3 separate regions of the Homo sapiens genome follow, and regions 2 and 3 are each linked to region 1. The links are contacts of gene promoters, found by promoter capture Hi-C in human tissues and cell types (Jung and others, 2019). All regions are on one chromosome and are shown on one strand. Each heading gives the region's core, a stretch centred on a gene start or on the middle of the fragment in contact. The rest is flanking DNA. Distances are from core to core; before and after follow the strand shown. Region 1 holds the start of COMMD7 (COMM domain containing 7). Region 2 overlaps TPX2 (TPX2 microtubule nucleation factor). Region 3 has its middle 21 kb from the start of PLAGL2.

Region 1 (4,248 bases), core at 1,190-3,689:
AGCTACTTGGGAGCCTGAGGCAAAAGAATCACTTGAGCCCAGGAGGTGAAGTTTGCAGTGAGCCAAGATCACGCCACTGCACTCCAGCCTGGGTGACAGAGGAAGACTCCGTCTAAAACAAACAAACAAACAAAAAAAAACTGACAGTAGGCTAAGGTCAACTTATCAAAAACAGAAAAAAAAAAATTTTTTTTTAGGGATGGGGGTCTCACTATGCTGCCCAGGCTGGAGTGCAATGGCTATTCACAGGTGGAATCACCATGCACTACAGCCTTGAAATCCTGGGCTCAAGTGATCCTCCTGTCTCAGCCTCCCAAGTAGCTGGGACTACTGTGGTAGCTGTGCCACCGTACCCAACTAGAAAGTTGTTTTTTTTTTTTTGAGATGAAGTCTCACTCTATTGCCCAGGCTGGAATGCAGTGGTGCAATCGCAGCTTACTGCAACCTCCACCTCTCAGGTTCAGGCGATTCTCCTGCCTTAGCCTCCAGAGTAGCCGGGACTACAAGTGCCCGCCACTACACCCAGCTAATTTTTGTATTTTTAGTAGAGACAGGGTTTCATCATGTTGGCCAGGATGGTCTCGATCTCCTGACCTTGTGATCCGCCCACCTTGGCCTCCCAAAGTCCTAGGGTAGGTGTGAGCCACCGTGCCCGGCCTATTTTTTATCTTTTATACTGTATTTGTACTGTACCTTTTCTATTTAGATTTGTCTAAACACACAAATATTTACCATTATAGTCCAGTTGCCTATGGTATTCAGTACAGTCACATGCTGTATAGGTTTGTAGCCTAGGAGCAATGCGCTATACCATATATCCTAGGGTGCAGTAGGTTTGTGTAAATAAACTCTAGGATGCTTGCATAAGATAAACTCAGGGCTGGGCACAGTGGCTCACGCCTGTAATCCCAACACTCTGGGAGGCTGAGGTGGGCAGATCACCTGAGGTCAGGTGTTCAAGACCAGCCTGGCCAACATGGTCAAACCCCATCTCTACTAAAAATACAAAAATTAGCTGGGCATGGTGGCGTGTGCCTGTAGTCCCAGTTACTCGGGAGACTGAGACAGAGAACTGGTTGAACCTGGGAGGCGGAGGTTGCAGTGACCCGAGATCGCGCCACTGCACTCCAGCCTGGGTGACAGAATGAGACTACGTCTCAAAAAAAAAAAATTAATTTCCATTTCTATTTAATTTTTAAATGTGGCTACTACAAAATGCAAAGTTAGAAATGTGGCTTGCAAATTTTTCTATTGCATAGCTCAAGCTTAGAACCTTCCTGTCGTTACAAGTTCTAAGTTTGGTTTTTATCTCGCAAGCAGCACTACTGTGTGGGAAGTTGTGGGGGGTATGGAGATGAAAGAAGAGGGGCGCTACCTCCTGGGAAGTGACAACCTAGCGGGGGAAATAGATGTATCTTCCCAGTGGGGGTGAGAAGTGTCATTCTCACCTATTTCAGCAGCCTTGGTGGTATGAAAAGGCATCCCAACCAGCACAGAAGCAGGATGCCTCCAAGACTGCCTTGGTTGGCACCTGCAGCCTGAAGGGGGAGAAAAAGGCTTTGCTAGCTCCCCTACCATCGAGGATGAAGACCCCCACTGTACACAGTGTATAAGGTTTCTTTCCATGTGAATCCCAGTGACTCTCCTTAACTGGGTGGAGGTGGAAGGTGTCATCAGCCTTGTCCCAGATCGAGCCCCTCAGGCCCACAGAGCCCCAGTGGGGCCTGGCTATTACTGACACTCATGTCACACTGAGATGTAAGACGGCAGCCCAGGCCAAGCTTCCCCGGGCCCCCTCAGATTCTCGGGCCCTCCCACTCCCCTCAGGCTTCCTCGGCCTCCCTGCCAAACATCTATCTCCCTTTGGACCCCACTGCTCCCCAAAACTCCCCACGCCCTTAGTCTGTTCCTTCAGTTCCCCAAACTCCTTCAGCCTCATCTAGACTCCCCTCCGTCCCTCTTCTAGGACCCCAAAAGCTCTCCTCGGCCCCAGGACCCCGCAGAGGTCCCGTAGTCCCATCTCTGAGACCCCACAAAGCCTTTCGGACCCCTCAGGTGGCCCTTAGGCCTCCGGAGATCCCTTGGCTCCCCACACTCTCCTCAGACCCCAGCTCACCTTAGCCTCGCCCCGAACCCACCTCACACACCCCAAACGCCCACAAGACGCCGCTCTGTCTAGTCTCTCCCAACTCCCGCGCACCCCCGGACGTCCCCCCCACCCCAGGCCCGGATCCTGGAATCACCTGGGCCCCGCGCCCCACGCCCCGCCGCCGGGCCCACCTGCGCGCCCAGCTGGTTCAGCTGCTGCATGTCGCCGCCCACGGCCTCCGGCACCGGGTCCTCAGTGCAGTGCAGGCGGCCCATGGCGCGCGCCCCAGCCCCGCAGGTTCCACCGCCGCCGCCGCCCTGCTCAGCTTCCTCCTCCGCTGCCGCTGCCACCGCTGCCGGCCTCTCCGCGCATCCACAACCGCACTTTCGCCACGGCCGTCGCAGCGCACTCCTCCCCCGGCCGCCCTGGGCTGTCCGGAGCCGGGGAGCCCTCGCAGGGCCGCGGACACGCGCGGCCGCCGGGCTCCGGGGAGGGGCAGGGGCGGCGCCGGCACCGGCAGACGCGAGGTTTCCTGCCAGCTCTCCCGCTGAGTGACCTTTGGGTACGGCGCTTGGCCTCTCTGAACCTCAGTTTCACCATCTGAGAAAATGATGGCTGGGGTAGCTCCTTAAATGAGTTAAGCCTCCAGAAATGTTTAACGCAGAGACCGGCACACAAGAGGTCTTCAATCAATGGCTAGCTGCTATTATCATCATCACTGTTACTATGCACTCCAGAGATATTTATGGCAGCCTACTCGATGCCAGACACTGGGGACAGGGAAGGGAACAAAGCAGGCCAGAGTGTCTCTCGGAGAGCTGACATCAGAGTAGAGACTAGGTCTCAACCTTGGAAGGGCATCAGCATCACCCCAGCATCACCTGGTATTGCCGGGCCCCGCCCCCAGAGGATCTGATTCGAAAGGCCAGGGTGGAGCCTGAGAATTTGCATTTCCAATAAGCACCCAGGGACTACACTTTGAGACCTTCTGGAGTGGAAGAAACTGACTTACCAAAGTTTCCTCAAAATAGTGCGAGGGCTTTGACTGTGCGGGGCAGGGAGGGTGGTGGTGAGGTGGGTGAGGGGAGGTTACTGAGACCGTGATCATCACTGCAGCCCCTCAAACACTCTAACCCCCATGCCCTCTCTTCCCAGGGGCTCCTCACAGTTCCCAGGTGAATATTACCCTAATCCCCACTGGAAACATGAGAAAATAGAGACATGCTACCCAGAATCTAGGAACTGAACGCCAAGCCTAAGGGCTTCACCTAGCCCCTAAGTCCAGCCTTGAGGGTAAAGAGGTAATGCCGAGAAACCTGGAGCAGGGAAATGTGGGGGGTTTGGCTGGCCTTCCTCACCAGCCCTCCTCCTCTCCTCTACCCTTTCCTGAAAATCCCTTCTGTAAAAGTATAAACAAAATGTCTTCTACCCGGCCCGGCGCGGTGGCTCACTCCTGTAATCCCAGCACTTTGGGAGGCTGAGGCGGGCGGATCACTTGAGGTCAGGAGTTTGAGACCAGCCTCAACATGGAGAAACTCCGTCTCTACTAAAAATACAAAATTAGCCGGGCGTAGTGGTGCATGTCTGTAATCTCAGCTACTCGGGAGGCTGAGGCAGGAGAATTCCCTGAACCCGGGAGGCATAGGTTGCGGTAAGCCGAGATCGCGCCATTGCACTCCAGCCTGGGCAACAAGAGCGAAACTCCGTCTCAAAGAAAAAACAAAAAAGTCTTCTACCCAAAGGCCAAGCCCATCCCCTTCAGTCATTATATCATTCATACATTCATTCAACAAATATTGAGTGGCACATGCCTGTGGTCCCAGCTACTCGGAGGCTGAGGCAAGAGGATCACTTGAGATCTTGAGATCGAGACTGCAGTGAACCCAGATGGCGCCACTGCACTCCAGCCTGGGCGACAGAGCAAGACCACATCTCCATAAAAAAAAAAGAAGGTCTGCTGTGAGGCAGATACCATGACATGATAGGGGGTGGGGATTCCACAGTGACACAACCAGATGAACCAGATGCAGTGCCTGGCCTCTGAGAAGTCAGAATTGACCCAGGGGGCAGACGCAAGTGTGTGTGAAAGTATTAAGGGATGCCAAAAAGTAGGAGGTGCTTTGAGAATGTGTACAGGACACAGTCCGAGTTTGGAGTAC
Region 2 (4,248 bases), core at 1,116-3,615, 970 kb before region 1:
CTTTTGCTTGTTGTCTCACTGGCACAAGATGGCTGGTGTATCTCTAGGTGTTATATTTATGTTTAAGAGAAGAAGAAGAGTACAGTAAAGGAAAAAGGGCAGCATCTATATCAGGAAACTTAAGTCTTTCGCAGCAACCCTTAAATTTCATTTCATTCGCCTAGACTTGTGTCACTTGGATTCCCTAGTTGCAGTAGAGGCTGTTGAGGCAAGTACAATACTTACTTGTAGCTTAGTGCGTTGCTGCTCCTCCCGAAATTGGGGTTTTGTTAATGAGAAAGAGACAGAATAGATATTGGGATGGCAATTAACTCTGCCATTTGATCATTTGATGGTGAGCAGTTAGAGTCCCTCCTTACTCTTCCAAACCACCACTAGATAACTCTTATCTTGATAGCGGTTGGCTTTCTCAAAGTTTACTCATTGAAGCCATTAATATATATGATCTAATGATACTGTTGGAAGAATCATGTGGTCGAAGCATGCTTGTTATCCTATAGAATGAGAAAATTTAATCCATATGCAGTAGATTTGGGGAGGAGGGTACAGGCTATGCTTCAGGGAATTGAAAACATATTTTTTGTCCTTTTGAACTCAAGTTCTAACAACAAAAAGAAGCCAGAGGAAGAAGGCAGTGCTCATCAAGATACTGCTGAAAAGAATGCATCTTCCCCAGAGAAAGCCAAGGGTAGACATACTGTGCCTTGTATGCCACCTGCAAAGTAAGTTTCTTTCCTGAATTTAAACTTTAGAATGAATGGTATAAAATTACAGATTTACATCTACAACCTGTTTGGTGTACCTGGAGGTTGGCAAACTCCTGAAGCTTTGACCATGGTGAGGTGAATTGTTACATGTGTCCTGATGGGTGCTCAGATTTTTAAATTTTTATTTAATTAATTAATTTTAAAGACAGGGCCTCATTCTGTTGCCTAGGTTGGTGTGCAGTGATGCAATCATGGCTCACTGCATCCTTGACCTCCTGGGCTTACGTGATCCTCCCACCTCAGCCTCCCAAGTAGCTGGGACTATAGGCATGCACTATCATGCCTGGCTAACTTTTTTTTTTTTTTTTTTTGAGACAGAGGCTCACTCTGTTTCCCAGGCTGGAGTGCAGTGGCATGATCTTGGCTTACTGCAACCTCTGCCTCCCGAGTTCAAACAATTCTCCTGCCTCAGCCTCCCGAGTAGCCCGGATTACAGGTGTGCACCACCACACCCGGCTAATTTTTGTATTTTTAGTAGAGATGGGGTTTCACCATGTTGGCCAGGCTGGTCTCGAATTCCTGACTTTAAGTTATCTGCCCACCTTGGCCTCCCACAGTGCTGGGATTACAGGTGTGAGCCACTGTGCCCAGCCTACCTGGCTAACTTTTACATGTTTTTGTAGAGATGGGATTTCACTATGTTGCCCAGGCTCTCAAACTCCTGGCCTCAAGCAGTCCTCTTGCCTTGGTCTCCCAAAGTGCTGGGATTACAGATTTGAGCCACAGTGCTGGCTGGTGCTCAGATCTTGAACAGTCAGAAAAATATACTGTTGAAGCAAATTTAAAAGAAATATAAAAGGAAAAAGTTAGCAACAGTTCTTACCACGTAGATTGAACATTTTTTATTTTTCCAACCTCCCTGCTGGATTTTACCCAAGCCAGCATACATATTTTCACAATCAGTTAATACAAAACCTTGGGTTCTGCTTTATTGACTTGCCATGAGATTATTTCAGATTTTGTTTCTGTGCTGCTACAAAATTTTCACATTTATCCTTTTTTGATAGATTGTTAATATTCTATCAAAATATATTTAACTATTTTCTGTTGAAAATGTAGTTTCCAGCTTTTCATGATTATAAGTACTCAGTCAACAACTTTATAGGCAGAACCATTTCTTTGAGTGATCTTCTCAGAATAAGGAAGGAGAAATTCCCCACAGGGTATGACCAGTTTTGTCAGTGTTGATATTTATTGCCAATTTTACTTCTGAAATGGAAGTACCAATTTATAGTGCCATCGGCTTTTTTTTTTTTTTTTTTTTTTTGAGATGGAGTCTCACCCTGTCACCCAGGTTGGAGTACAGTGGCGCAATCTTGGCTCACTGCAACCTCCGCCTCCTGGGTTCAAGTGATTCTCCTACCTCAGCCTCCTGAGTAGCTGGGATTATAGGCATGCATCACCACACCCGGCTAATTTTTTTTTTTTTTTTTTTTTTTTGTGAGACGGAGTCTCGCTCTGTTGCCCAGGCTGGAATGCAGTGGCACGATTTCGGCTCACTGCAACCTCTGCCTCCCACGTTCAAGCAATTCTTCTGCCTCAGTCTCCCATGTGGCTGGGATTACAGGCACCTGCCACCACACCTGGCTCATTTTTTATTTTTAGTAGAGATGGAGTTTCACCATGTTGGCCAGGCTGGTCTTGAATTCCTGACCTCAAGGGATCTGTCTGCCTCAGCCTCCCAAAGTGCTGGGATTACAGGTGTGAGCCACCATGCCTGGCCCCGGCTAATTTTTGTATTTTTAGTAGAGATGGGGTTTCATGATGTTAGCCAGGCTGGTCTCGAACTCCTGACCTCAAGTGATCTGCCCGCCTCAGCCTCTCAAAGTGCTGGGTATAGGTGTGAGCCACCATGCCTGGCCTGAAGTGCCATTGGCTTTGAATGAATATTTTTATTTTCTTATTATCTCATCTGCATTGTTTATTAACTTATAAAATTGTTTCTTTTTTTAAATTCATATAGATGGCATGAAATTATTATTTTAAAAATTTAATTGTAAATTGATAATTTATAGTTGTATATATTTATACAGTACAAAGTGATGTTATGATTCATGACTACAATTTGGAATAATTAAATCTAGCTAATTAACATATCTGTCACCTCAAATACTTACCACTTTTTGTAGTGAGAACATTTGGATTTTTTTTTTTTTTTATCGAGATGGAGTTTCTCTCTTGTTGTTCAGGCTGGAGTGCAGTGGTGAGATCTCAGCTTACTGCAACCTCCGCTTCCCGTGTTCAAGTGATTCTCCTCCCTCAGCCTCCCGAGTAGCTGGGATTACTGGCACTTGCCACTATACCCAGCTAATTTTTGTATGTTTAGTAGAGATGGGGTTTTACCACGTTGGCCAGGCTGGTCTCAAACTCCTGACAGGTGATCCACCTGCCTCAGCCTCCCAAAGTGCTGGGATTACAGGCATGAGCCACCGCGCCTGGCTGGAATTTATTCTCTTAGTGTATTACGATTACTAATGATATCCTCCACCCTGTGCAGTAGAGCAAAAGAAAAATCTTTTTCCTCTTGTCTGAGATTTGTTGTACTCTTTAATCGTCATCTCCCCATTTCCCCCAACCCCCAGCATCAAATTATTTTAATTTTTATGTATTTGCTGACAAGATTGTATTACTGCTACTATTGTAAACATTTTTCCATATTTCCTCTTGGGTGAATTATCTGTTTCCTTTTTATTTTTTTTCTTATTGGTAACCTTATTTGCCTATAAGTGTCCTTGGTGATATTTTCCTTACTAAGAATGGATACTCTGTGTTGAACATTACCATGTGTCAAGCACTTCAGAGACATCATCTGATTGAACAGTCATAAATAGGATGTGAACATGAGTATTTACACTCCCATTTCACAGTGGGGAAAACTGAGGCTCAGGGAAGTTAAATAGTTTTCTCAAGATCATTATAGGCAGCAAATGAAATGACAGGGTTGGGATTTAGTCGGCTTTACTTCTGAGTTTCTTCCTTCTGTTACATGTGTTTTATGTGTATTAACCCTAGGTTGTAGATACTTTCCTCATTCTACTGGTCTTTTTTTGTTTTTGTTTTTGAGACAGGGCCTTGCTGTGTTGCCTAGGCTGGTCTTGAACTCTTGGGCTCAAGCAATATTTTTGCCTCAGCCTTCCAAGTAGCTGGGATTACAAGGGCATGCCATTGCACTAGGCTTCTACTGGTCTTTTAGTTTTTCTTGTGGCTTACAACCTAATCTTTTTTGTTGTTGTTGCTGTTGTTGTTTTTGGAGATGGAGTCTCACTCTGTTGCCCAGGCTGGAGTACAGTGGCGTGATCTTAGCTCACTGCAACCTCCACCTCCCGGGTTCTAGCGATTCTCCTGCCTCAGCCTCCCGAGTAGCTAGGATTACAGGTGCCTGCCACTACATCTGGCTAATTTTTGTATTTTTAGTAAGATGGGGTTTCACCATGTTGGCCAGGTTGGTCTCGAACTCCTGACCTCAGGTCATCCACCCGCC
Region 3 (4,248 bases), core at 1,225-3,724, 560 kb before region 1:
TGTTGTTCGCTCTGCCAGGAATTCCCTTCTCTGGCTCCACTTTCCAAACTACTGCCTATTCTTTAACACCCAGCTCGTGACCCAACTTCAGAGAAGTCTCCGCCCTCTGGTCCCACATCATCACATACCTGGTGAACTATAAGCCACGTTGAACACAGTTGGGTTTTGTCTCCTTGGATGACCGTTGGATACCAGTTACACCTCTTGCCCCGGTGTAATTATTAGTCGTGACCCTTTCATTCCCAGATATGTTCCAGCTGGATGGCAAATTAAACAGTCACCCTTCATCACCCACACCGTTCTCCACCCAACTCAAATCCTTTGGGCAGGAACTATGCCTTTGTCAGAGCCCAGCACAGTACTCTGTATGCTGGAATAAAGTCAGTCACTCATACCAGTAATCTTTGAGACACTGGACACTAAACTATGGGGAAGCAAAGCAGCAGAAACATGTGTCCCTGTTCTCCTGCCACATGTGAAAGGAGGTGGAAGAAGGTAAGAAAAGATCATTTCAGAGAGGCCACGTGCAGTGGCTCACGCCTGTAATACCAGCACTTTGGGAGGTGGAGGCAGGTGGATCACTTGAGGTCAGGAGTTTGAGACCAGCCTGGCCAACGTGGTGAAACCCTGTTTCTACTAAAAATACAAAAATTAGCTGGGTGTGGTGGCGGGCACCTGCAGTCCCAGCTACTAGGGAGGCTAAGGCAGGAGAATCGCTTGAACCCGGGAGGCGGAGGCTGCAGTGAGCCAAGATAGCACCACTGCACTCCAGCCTGGGTGACAGAGTGAGACCCTGTCTCAAAAACGAAAAAAAAAAATCATTTCAGAGAGTTACAAGTGACATGGAAAAAATCATGAAGGGAGGGGTAGAGGCTAATTTTGGACAGGCTGGGCAGGGAAGGCCTCTGAAGTGGCGTTTGAGGACTGAATGAATTGAGGGAGCCATGAGATGAGAATATCTGCAGGAGGAAAATCCTAGCTAGGAGAGGGAAAAAAGCAAGTGCTAAAATCCTGAGGCTGGAACATGCTTAGTGTGTTTAAAGAACAGGAGAGAGGCCAGTGTTGGGGGCACAGAGAGAGCAAAGCAGAAGTGGATGGGAGATGTTGGGAGGGACCAGCAAATGCAGGGCTTTGTCGCCTGCAATAAGGAATTTTATATATATATATATATAAATTTTTTTTTTGAGACGGAGTCTTACTCTGTCACCCAGGCTGGAGCGCAATGGCGAATGGCATGGTCTCAGCTTACTGCAACCTCCGCCTCCCAGGTTCAAGCGATTCTCCTGCCTCAGCCTCCTGAGTAGCTGGGACTACAGGCACCCGCCACCATATCCAGCACATTTTTGTATTTTTAGTAGGGATGGGGTTTCACTACTGGTGAAATCCTACTGGCTGGTCTCGAAATCCTGACCTCGTGATCCACCCGCCTCAGCCTCCCAAAGTGCTGGGATTACAGGCGTGAGCCACCATGCCCGGCCTATAGATACATATTTTTAACCAGTGTAGGGTTTTGGATGGGGAAGTGACATGATCTAAGTTATTTTTTCCCCAGACAGGCAATTTTTTATTTTTTATCATGCGTATAGAAAACAAAAGTGTCACAGATCCCCTTGTGACTGGACAAAGCCACCTCAGGAATATTTCTCTGCTTAAAAGAAGCATTGTCAGTTACAGTGATGTCAATTACAACCTGGCACAAAATCATCAAGACCATCAGGGTCACAGAATTCTTTCTGGAGGTTATCCTTGCAGAACACAGGCACAGCTTCCAGTCTGAAGTCCAACAAAACCAGAACTCTGCTTCTAAGTACAAGATTATGGTAAAGGCCCCAACAACCTGATAACAATTGTGAATAGTCACATAAGTTTCCAAGTGGCATAAAAAATGTACACTGACAATCTTGCAAAAGTTCTCAACTAAAAGCAACAAGCAAGCCTTTACAGCATAATGCCCCAGTGGGCTGAAACACAGGAGGGGATGCATAGGGTCTTACTTAAAAGCAGCAGAAGAAAAGCTTACATTAACTTTCTACATACACAAGGTAGGACCAAGAGAGAAAACCTCTAAAGTTGCAGTGTTCTGTTATTCTTCTAGTTTACAAAACATATTGGCGAATCAAAAATGTTAGCAAGGGCTGGGCGCGGTGGCTCACACTTGTAATCCCAGCACTTTGGGAGGCCAAGGTGGGAGGATCCCTTGAGCCCAGGAGTTAAGACCATCCTGGGCAACATAGCGAGACCCCCGTCTCTACAAAAATGTTTTTTAAAAAGCTGGGCATGGTGGCATACACCTGTAGTCCCAGCTACTTGGGAGGCTGAGATGGGAGAATTACTTGAGCCCAGGAGTTTGAGGCTATGATGCATCACTGCACTCCAGCCTGGGCAACAGAGTGAGACCCTGTCTTGAAGAAAAAAAAAAAATCAGATGGGCACAGTGGCTCACACCTATAATTTTAGCACTTTGGGAGGCCAAGGTGGGCAGATCGCTTGAGCCCAGGAGTTCAAGACCAGCCTGGGCAACATAGTGAGACCCTGTCTCTATGTATTAACCAAAATCAAGGGCTCTCCTCCTTCTACCATCTCTCAGCCATCCTGCCTTTTCAGCTGGCTCTGGTTCCTTTTGTACTTCCCTGCCAAAAGCACCCTCCACATTATTTTGTGATAAGGCCTCCCCAGGTCCTAGGGAACAGAAGATAAGGCCTTCCATGGGAAGGGGCCTGGGTATGGCCACTACCACCCCTTCCCCTAAAATGAAATGGAGACAGACAGCTCTGCAAGCAGGGGGAGGAGGGGGTGGGCAGCTCAGCTCTTATACCTAGAGGGGTTCGGACTTGGTGGAAGGGTAAGAAAGAGTTGGGGTTAGTCTAAAAGAACACAGCATAAAATGGAATATTAACTATCCCCGCTCTGGGGACTTCCTGGTCTCTCTGTTCAGCAGCCTTGGACTGTCCCCTTTGGAAGATTCTAGGCCTTGCTAAAGAGGGTAAGGTATAGGGGAAGAGAGAATGCTGGCAGTCTACAGGGCAAACCCTCCCTCTCTGGAGACGAAGAGAGGCAAACTGAACACGAAAGTCTTTCTTGTTGAGTTTAAGAAAAAATCTTTTTCTTCAGTTGTTATTTTTTGTTTCTAAGCCATCATTTAAAGAAAAAAATGGTGTGAGATCTGGGTATGGATAGACAGGCCCCAGGACCAGGAAGACCCCCTCCCCAGCACCCACAGCTTGGCAGCCTAACAGGTAGAGGCAGGGGGGCTGGCAGAGCACCTGGATTCTGTGGGGTCCAGTAACTGGGGCTCAGGAGGGGATCCCATCCTTGCCCCTGCCTCACTCACATGCCCAGATAGGCCAGTTTGGCAGAGTTCCTGGGGATTAGGGGCTCTCCTGTGCATTGGCAGGTGGCCCACCTGGGTCCACAAGCGGCTATGGAGGTTCCTGTAGACCTGGGGGCGGGCAACAGGGCTGATGGTGGTCTGGGCAAAACTCATGGGAAAGGAGATGGCTAGGCATTGGTGGGGCACGGCACAGACCCTCATAAGCTAGCAGCAGGCTGTGATGTCAGGCCACCGTGGGGCAGGAGGAGCAGTATGATCACAAAGAATGTGCTGTCCACTGCTTCATGCCCTTGACCTCACCCATGCCCAGCAGCCAGCTGTGTGCTCATCCTGCCAGATACCCAAGAGTCCACTTGGTGGTAGCCTGTGGTCTTGAGGCCATGGAATGTCCAAGCCTGGGTGGCACCCGGCACCAAATGAAGCCACTTCATCTTGGGTGATGAGACTCAGTTTGCCACAGCCAGGGTGTAGAGAGCTACTGTGAGCACGACCAGCAAGCATGCGAAGGCCGGCAGGCTGGAGTCTTGAAGCATAGGCCTCAAAGAGGCACTGTCCTCCAAGTAGTGACTTGTGGGTACCCTTGTCAAAAATGGCTGGGATGGCCACGGTCACAGGTCCATGCCGTAAAGATTATGGCAGTGCACATCCACAGCACTGGGTGCTTAGTGTAGACGCAGCGGCATGTGACAGCCACGTGATGTTAACACAGAACAGCAAGAGGCCATATGGAAACAGTAGAGACTGGCCACGAGGGCCACAATTTGAGAGCTGAGTCCACCGAACCACGCAGAGCGGGAGTGCACAGAACAGACAGCAGACAGCAGACAGCAGACAGCAGACAACAGAGCGCCCACCATGGGCCTGAGCCCAGATCCGCCACCCGTAGGAGGCATGAGGAAGCTTATGTAGGCCGCACA

Evidence for each region. The method cuts DNA at HindIII sites, captures the fragments that hold promoters and counts their contacts. A contact is called where the count stands out against the background at its distance.
Region 2: a fragment that was not itself captured here is called in contact with the fragment with the promoter of COMMD7 in region 1 in 1 of the 25 tissues and cell types used here (aorta).
Region 3: a fragment that was not itself captured here is called in contact with the fragment with the promoter of COMMD7 in region 1 in 1 of the 25 tissues and cell types used here (mesenchymal stem cells).

Annotation. Positions count from the first base shown.
Region 1 is chr20:32,741,028-32,745,275 of GRCh38, forward strand. COMMD7 (COMM domain containing 7) reads right to left here and starts at 2,440. Exons shown (of 9, transcript NM_053041.3): 1 at 2,281-2,440. The coding sequence starts at 2,364. RefSeq lists enhancers at 105-606, 1,276-2,103, 2,991-3,935 and silencers at 1,057-1,231, 2,216-2,285, 2,466-2,695. The HindIII fragment of the contact is 4,810 bases long and covers 1,524-4,248 here.
Region 2 is chr20:31,770,961-31,775,208 of GRCh38, forward strand. TPX2 (TPX2 microtubule nucleation factor) reads left to right here. Exons shown (of 18, transcript NM_012112.5): 7 at 600-722. Among named protein-coding and RNA genes, the nearest start is that of TPX2, 34 kb to the left of the region's middle. The HindIII fragment of the contact is 9,779 bases long and covers 1-4,248 here.
Region 3 is chr20:32,184,940-32,189,187 of GRCh38, forward strand. It overlaps the pseudogene TSPY26P. Among named protein-coding and RNA genes, the nearest start is that of PLAGL2, 21 kb to the right of the region's middle. RefSeq lists an enhancer at 3,315-4,130. The HindIII fragment of the contact is 3,734 bases long and covers 608-4,248 here.